Regions from separate parts of the Homo sapiens genome. Here region 1 is linked to region 2. The links are contacts of gene promoters, found by promoter capture Hi-C in blood cells and fetal thymus (Javierre and others, 2016). All regions are on one chromosome and are shown on one strand. Each heading gives the region's core, a stretch centred on a gene start or on the middle of the fragment in contact. The rest is flanking DNA. Distances are from core to core; before and after follow the strand shown.

The links. Contacts are between HindIII fragments. The CHiCAGO score rates a contact against its expected background, and 5 or more counts as called.
Region 1: a contact is called between a fragment that was not itself captured here and the fragment with the promoter of ITGAV in region 2, in 1 of 17 cell types (non-activated CD4 T cells). The highest score is 5.9, in non-activated CD4 T cells.

Annotation. Positions count from the first base shown.
Region 1 is chr2:189,450,441-189,454,311 of GRCh38, forward strand. WDR75 (WD repeat domain 75) reads left to right here. Exons shown (of 21, transcript NM_032168.3): 3 at 463-528; 4 at 1,365-1,455. Among named protein-coding and RNA genes, the nearest start is that of WDR75, 11 kb to the left of the region's middle. The HindIII fragment of the contact is 5,723 bases long and covers 1-3,871 here.
Region 2 is chr2:186,587,111-186,591,305 of GRCh38, forward strand. It overlaps ITGAV (integrin subunit alpha V), which reads left to right and starts at 2,946. Exons shown (of 30, transcript NM_002210.5): 1 at 2,946-3,413. The coding sequence starts at 3,229. It overlaps LOC124906105 (a long non-coding RNA gene), which reads right to left and starts at 2,786. Exons shown (of 2, transcript XR_007087465.1): 1 at 1,880-2,786. RefSeq lists a silencer at 3,009-3,238 and an enhancer at 3,369-3,428. The HindIII fragment of the contact is 2,158 bases long and covers 2,537-4,195 here.

The sequences.
Region 1 (3,871 bases), core at 736-3,235, 2.9 Mb after region 2:
CAACCTCAGCCTCCCAAGTAGCTAGGATTACAGGGATGTGCCACCACGCCTGGCTAATTTTTGTAGGGGTTTCGTCATGTTGGCCAGGCTGGTCTCGAACTCCTGGCCTCAAGTGATGCACCCACCTGGGCCTCCCAAAGTGCTGAGATTACAGGTGGCAGCCACTGCACCTTGGTGCTTTTCATATCTCATTCAAAACCTTACCATCTCCCTCTTCAAGACAGAAAGTTGGCTTTTTTCCTCTCTCTTTTAGTTAAAACTTGAAATGGATGGATCTGCTTCTTGCAGAAAGCTGTGAAAAGATTGTTTTGCAGAAGCAATATAAATAAATGACTCTACCTCTTTAAGGTTAACAGTGAATTAATGAATAGAAAATGCCCCTGATCAACATTTAATTATTCATTTGATATCTTGATGAATTTCTTTTTTTTAAATCAATTTTGTATTGTTTTACCCTTTTAGCTGTATTCTTGTTCCCTTGATGGCACAATTAAACTGTGGGACTATATAGATGGCATCTTAATAAAGGTATGTGGATTGATCTTTACTTTTCGTTATGTGAATAAAAAAAGGCAATGTAATTTAATGGTAGATGTACTGTTTCTATAAGGCCAAATATTTAAATAGACTTCCTAAACAAGTTACAAAATAACATCAAAAAAATTAATTTGACTATATAAAAATTTTCCACTTATAAAAGACAAGGTAAAGCTGGAAGAAGATATTTACAAAAGATATTATTCCAAATATACAAAAATCTTCCCAAAAACCAATAAGGAAAAACTAATAGCCTGGTAGAAGAAATTGGCATAAAGTAGGAATATGTAAATTCACAGAAAAGAAATACAAATAGTCAATAAATATGAAGAGATGCTTAAACTCATTAATAAAGAAATCTAAATTAAAACAAATGACACAATATTTCCCCTCATAAATTTAGCCAAATTGTAGATTGAAAAAAAATCTAGTGATAGGTAAAGTATGGAGAAACAGGCACTTTTTTACCCAATGAGAGTTAAAACTGAAAATCAATAAACACGTTTTGCTACAGCAGTCTCACCTCGGAATAATGGCCTGTACACAAAGTCCTTATAGCATTGTTTATGGTAGGAAAAAAGTTAAATATGACCTTGATGTCAGTTAAAATTATGATACATTCAGTACAATACCATTTCAGATCTATATGTAGGAAACTCGAAAGAGTATTTAACAAATATGTATTAGTTGTCTTCTGTAGGCCAGGTACTCTCCTTATGTTGGGAATACAGCAATGAGCAAAATACATAAAAACCCCTGCCTTGATGGATCTTATGTTCCACTGGAGGGAACAGACAGTAAACACTATGGTGCTCTTTATCTTTCAGACTTTCATAGTTGGATGTAAACTTCATGCCCTCTTTACTCTTGCCCAAGCTGAGGATTCTGTCTTTGTTATAGTGAATAAAGAAAAACCAGGTATGGTATAATTAACTTACTATATATGGCATTGAGTGGCTCTTTACATTTTACAGTTCCTCAAAATTTAACATTTTGGTTTTAATCTGAAGCCAACAGTTTTTAGAATGGGCATTTAAATTGCTTTTGTCATTATTGTGCTCATTTGGAGATGGTTTGTATGAATTCTGAAATATGCAGTGAGGGAGGGATTATTTTTTATGTGGTTGTAATAGTAGATTGCAGACCTCAAATTTTAAATCTGCTTTACAAAGGTGGATAGAATTTTGTCTTTCTACTGAACTTAAATCTGTTATTAAGCATCACTATCATTTATCTATCATTGAACACTTCTCACTTTCTTAAGTCAGGGTGGAAATGGCATAGAAAATTGGTTGATATTGGCCAGGCGCAGTGGCTCACGCCTGTAATCCCAGCACTATGGGAGGCCGAGGTGGGCAGATCACAAGGTCAGGAGATCTAGACCATCCTGGCTAACACGGTGAAACCCCGTCTCTACTAAACAAAATACAAAAAATTAGCCGGGTATGGTGGCAGGCACCTGTAGTCCCAGCTACTTGGGAGGCTGAGGCAGGAGAATGGCGTGAATCCAGAAGGTGGAGCTTGCAGTGAGCTGAGATGGCGCCACTGCACTCCAGCCTGGGTGAGACTCTGTCTCCAAAAAAAAAAAAAAAATTGGTTGATATTAAGAACCAATAATGTGACTAAGTTATTATTAATTACATTTTCACTGTCTTTAGAACATTGGTCCATTGAAACTGCTGTGCATCAGCATTTTAGGAATTCCTAGAATATTGTCAGTGATTAGAAATAATTGTCCCTTACCATAGAGTTTGATAAAACAGAACACTGACATGAGGACACATCTATAGAAATTTTCTGATCCCCACATTCAGGAATGCCACTGTATGCTATGGTGTCCTCCATAAAATACAGTTGTGTTCAGAATGAAGAATATGAAGCAGCTTTAAGATGATAGTGGGGCCGGGCATGATGGCTGACAACTGTAATCCCAGTGCTTTGGGAGGCCAGGGCAGGAGGATTGCTTGAGGTCAGGAGTTTGAGACCAGCCTAGGCAACATATACCATGGCCCTGTCTCTAAAAAGACAAAAAGAAAGAAAAGTAAGTTAGATGTGGTGGCTACAGTCCTAGCTACTCAGGAGGCTGAGGTGGGAGGATCACTAAACCACCTCCAAAGGACATTTCAAAAAATGTTCTGGAGATGGCAACGTTCTTAAAAATAATTAAGTCATCTTGCCAGATGACTGCTTCAAACATAGCACTCTTTTTGATATTTAAGTTCGGTTTCGTATGTTGAATACGTGGATTTCTGATAACAGTTCACATGTTTACGAAAAATTCAGGTTCCTAATCTTCCTGACAGGTGGTTGATCACTAGGTTTGGGATGTACTTTAGGAATCTGCATTTTTAATATCGTCCCAGGTGATTCTGCTCATCACTCGTATTTGGTAACAACTTCCTGTACTCACTCCATGATTCCTCACTTGGAAAAGTAGTTGCCAATAGCTGCTAGCAAAACTTTTTACCCATGATTCTAAACACTGACTACACATAAGAATCACATGAAGAACTTAATAAGATTCTGTGTGCTGGGGCCTAGTTTACTGAAAAATTTCTCAGTTGTGTCTAATATGCAAGACAGGATGGAAAACGACTGATCTAAAGTAAAGATCTTGTGTTGTAATCTAAATTCTTCTCATAATGAGATCTATTATTAATCTTCAGTACTTGGCATATAATGGGCACCCAGCATAAGAAAATCTGGATAGCTGCTACATAAAAATGTCAGTCAGGCTTGAAAAGATCCCCTGTGCTAGCTGGCTTGCTTACTGCACCACTGGCCTCTCATACTCAAATACAAAAACATATATTATACATATATGTGTACCCTTTTTGTGTTATCTATGTTCCACAGCCCAAAACCAGACTCTCTGATAGAAAATTGAATAAATCATGTTGCAGTTACTTCTCTGGTTTAAAAACAAATTAGCCTTTCATTTACGTGTTATTTTTGATGGTATTATTTCTTGACTATGTGTCATATAGTCATTCAACACCTAATTGAGCACCCACCGTGTGCTAAATACTGTTATGATTGCACAAAACAAAACACTTCTAAGTCCCAGTAGTAAACTGACTGGATTAGTTAATATGATACAGTAAGATGAAAGGTGGTCTAGAGAAAAATAAAGCAGGGGAGGGAAATGAGCAACATAGGAGGAGTAAATACTAAATGAGAGGAAGAAGGGCTGTGCAGCTGTGTTGGAGAAGGGAGGCCGGTGGAAGTGAGCCAGTGGAGAATAGATTATATTTAGCATCGTAGGCTATTGGAAGGACTTTTGCTTTTACTCTGAGTAAAAAGAATACCCTTAAGGAGATATTTTTTAAAGGGA
Region 2 (4,195 bases), core at 1,696-4,195:
ACCCAGGCTGGAGCACAGTGGCCCACAATACCACAATATCTCGGCTCACTGTAGCCTCTGCCTTCCGGGTTCAAGCAATTCTCCTGCCTCAGTCTCCTGAGTAGCTGAGATTACAGGCACACACCACCATGCCTGGCTACTGTTTTTTCTTTTTTGAGATGGAGTCTCATTCTGTCATCCAGGCTGAAGTGCAGTGGCACGATCTTGGCTCACTGAAACCTCTGCTTCCCAGGTTCAAGTGATTCTCCTGCCTCAGCCTCCCAAGTAGCTGGGATTACAGGTGCCTGCCACTGCACCCAGCTAATTTTTGTATTTTTAGTAGAGATAGGCTTTCACCATCTTGGCCAGGCTGGTCTTGAACTCCTGACATCGTGATCCACCCACTTTGGACTCCCAAAGTGCTGGGATTACAGGTGTGAGTGAGCCACTGCGCCCGGCCAATTTTTGTATTTTTAGTAGAGACGGGGTTTCACTGTGTTGGCCAGGCTGGTCTTGAACTCCTGACCTCAGGTGATCCACCCACCTCGGCCTCCCAAAATGCTGGGATTACAGGCATGAGCCACAGTGCCTGGACTATTTGCTTTTTTAAAAAAAACAAATTCCTTGATTTTCAAGACTGCTCATTCAAAATAAACTCATAAAGAATGGCTCAACAGTAAGTGCTTTCAGTAAGTTGTAGCCCTATTTGGGGGTGTGTTGTTCACCCAAGTTTTGGTGGGTGTACATGTGTTGTCATTTCGTGGGCTTCTTCTTTTCCCTGGTCCTCTCACATTTCTTCACTCCACCTTGGTCTGTCGGACCCCTGTCCTGCGATCAGAAGTTGAGGAGTGGGAGACTTACTGGATCTAGCCAGAGTTTAAACTCTTCTGTCTTCCTTACCTGGATGGATTTCCAGGTAGACTGGTTGTCATGTTTTTAAGATATAAAAGACCCTTTGGGTTTATGCATACATATCAATAGCCTCTTTGGTGTATTAGGAAAGAAGGTGAGAAATAAGCTGTATTTGCATTTATGTGTAAGGATTTGTGTAGGATTTCTTCTCTCAATCAGTAATTTCTTTCAGGCAGATGCTAGACCATGCCTTGTAAAACATGCCAAAGGTTTTGCTGCATATCTTTTAGTCAAATTTAAAAATGGAAATATTTAATGCATTTTTTTTTTGAGATGGAGTCTCACTCTGTGGCCCAGGCTGGAGTGCAGTGGCACCATCTCAGCTTACTGCAGCCTCCGCCTTCCGGGTTCAAGCAATTCTCCTGCCTCAGCCTCCTGAGTAGCTGGGACTGCAGGCGCATGCCGCCACGCCCGGCTAATTTTTTGTATTTTAGTAGAGACGGGATTTCACTGTGTTGCCCAGGCTGGTCTCGAACTCCCGAGCTCAGGCAATTTGCCGGCCTCAGCCTCCCAAAGTGCTAGGACTACAGGCATGAGCCACCTCGCCCGGCCTTTTTTTTTTTTAAACACAGGGTCTTGTTCTGTCACTCAGGCTGGAGTGCAGTGGCAGGCTCATGACTTATCATAACCTGGAACTCCTGAGCCTAAGCGATCTATCTACCTGCCTTAGCCTCCGGCATAGCTGGGACTACAGGCATGCACCACACTCCCAGCTAATTTTTAAATTTTTGTAGAGATGAGGTCTCCCTATGTTCCCCTGGAACTCCCGGTCTCAAGCAATCCTCCTGCCTCAGTCTCCCAAAGTGCTGAGATTGCCAGCATGAGCACCTGGACCTGGTCCAATAAATATTACAAATTCGAATTAGGCATTTCACTTTCATTTATATACATATCCTTTCACAGGATTATTTGATAGTTATTAATGTATATTATGATTGAGTTTTAATAGTTACTTTGGGAAAACAGAAATTACTGTTCCAGTACTTACTTGTAAGTTGTAAGTCCACACAATGCACTTAAACTTCACCTTGTTCAACAGATTCTGTAGCACATGAAACACTTGAAATATGGAAGAGTCACTTCTCTGGGCACTTTGCTCATTTCGTCTGCTATTCATTCACTGATTGGACATTTTATTGATCGACTACTATCTGCTTGGCAAGGTGCTAGAAATAAGAACACTAAGAAAAAGGTCAAGGTTCCTGTCCTCAAGGCCCTCTCTCTCAGTCCAGTGTTGTCAAGGCTTGATGAAACACACCAGTGGCAAACAAGCACGCGGGGCCTTATTTCACCGGTGTGCGGTCCTTCTTCCAGCTCTGAAATTATGTCTATCCAAACATCCTAAATCAACAAATCAGTGTTTCTAAATCATACAACCGCAGCTAACAAACTGGGAATAAGGCTTCGATTATTCTGACTTGATTTAAAACGATCACTGCCAATTCTTTGCCCTGCGAATCCTTTCTTTGACTACTAAGTTAAGCTTTACATACCTCACTTGCAAGAGGCTATGCTGGCTTTCTGGAAATCCGTAATTAAGTTCAGTGTTTGTGGAATGGAGTGTAATTAACGACCATTAATTAACAGGGTTTCGTTCGTGAGAGCCTGCCAGGCTAAGCAGCAGAAACACGAGAAACTGATAAAAAGCTTTCCTCATTTTTAAACAACAGTCGCACGGAAGTTCCCGGCGGGACAAGGGAACGTGGGTGCCCTTGCTACTCCCGTGGACGCGGGTAGATTGGGACGCTGGACCGTATCTCCCCGCCCCCGCCCCCACGCCTCCTCAGGTGCTCAGCCTGAGGCCTTCGTCCAGGAGCGCTGCCGCTGACCCAGGCTCAGGAGCTGGGGGCCCCTGCACAGACGCCCAGGTCTCGGGACAGGCGGCGACTGCACTCACGGAAGTACGCTGAGCTCTCCCCTGTAGAAGGGCGCCTCTCCTCCCCCACTTCCTCCTCCAGCTCCACAGCAGCCTCCCGGGCCGGCTCCTCCTCCTTCCAGGTCTCCTCCCAGTGCCGCCGCGGCTCTCAGGCCTGAGGTGCGGCGCTCACCCCGGCAGTCCCCAGCCTCAGACGCTGCGTGGAGCGGCGGAGCCGGAGGGAAGCAAAGGACCGTCTGCGCTGCTGTCCCCGCCCCGCGCGCTCTGCGCCCCTCGTCCCTGGCGGTCGCTCCGAAGCTCAGCCCTCTTGCCTGCCCCGGAGCTGTCCCGGGCTAGCCGAGAAGAGAGCGGCCGGCAAGTTTGGGCGCGCGCAGGCGGCGGGCCGCGGGCACTGGGCGCCTCGCTGGGGCGGGGGGAGGTGGCTACCGCTCCCGGCTTGGCGTCCCGCGCGCACTTCGGCGATGGCTTTTCCGCCGCGGCGACGGCTGCGCCTCGGTCCCCGCGGCCTCCCGCTTCTTCTCTCGGGACTCCTGCTACCTCTGTGCCGCGCCTTCAACCTAGACGTGGACAGTCCTGCCGAGTACTCTGGCCCCGAGGGAAGTTACTTCGGCTTCGCCGTGGATTTCTTCGTGCCCAGCGCGTCTTCGTAAGTGGCCGCACTTGGAACTGGAGCCGGCCCCCTCCCCCACCGCGCGCACCCACCCAGCGTTTCTCCATTGGGATTGATTTCCGAGAGATCCCGGCGTCTGTCTGTCTCACCCATCCTACCTCTCAGAGTGGTTTATATCCTGGGTGGAGGAAATATTTGGGGAAATGAACTCCCTTTGGTACCCATCACCCAGTTACACCCCGCTTCTCACCTCTTAAAATTGGTTAGGGGCAGCGGGAGAGCTTTGAAGCAGACCTGTGCTTAAAAATCGGGGAAAGTGGGAAATCAACAAAGGCTGGTCTTGCCGGACTCCCCGCCTCCTGTGCCAGTGTCGAGGATTTGGTCAATATCATCCCCGAACTTCTTTTTCTCCTCTACCAGTTAGGCTTCTTGGTAGCCTTTTTCTGCTTTACAGGCTTAACGCCCGTCCTTTTCAGTCTCCCTAAACAAGCCCTCCCCCACTCTTTCCGCCTCTGTCTGATTCTGTTTCTCCTTACTCCTTTTGCAGACATTCTGATGACTTAAAATGACCATACTGTCCTATTGAATTCATTGTGTCTTATCTCTGGGACTGTCAGACATTTGCACATTTGAGGTTGAACAGATGAATTGAATGTGTCATCTGTTCTTTTTATAGTGATTCACTATTTAGGTCATTGTTCAGAAGGAACAAGGGTGTTTGCTGAGTTTTCACTCGCTGCAGGTCATTTGAATACTGCAGTATTTAATAATTCAGTTATGTTTTCAAGTTGCCAACGTTCCGCGTTGCAAGGGCCGTC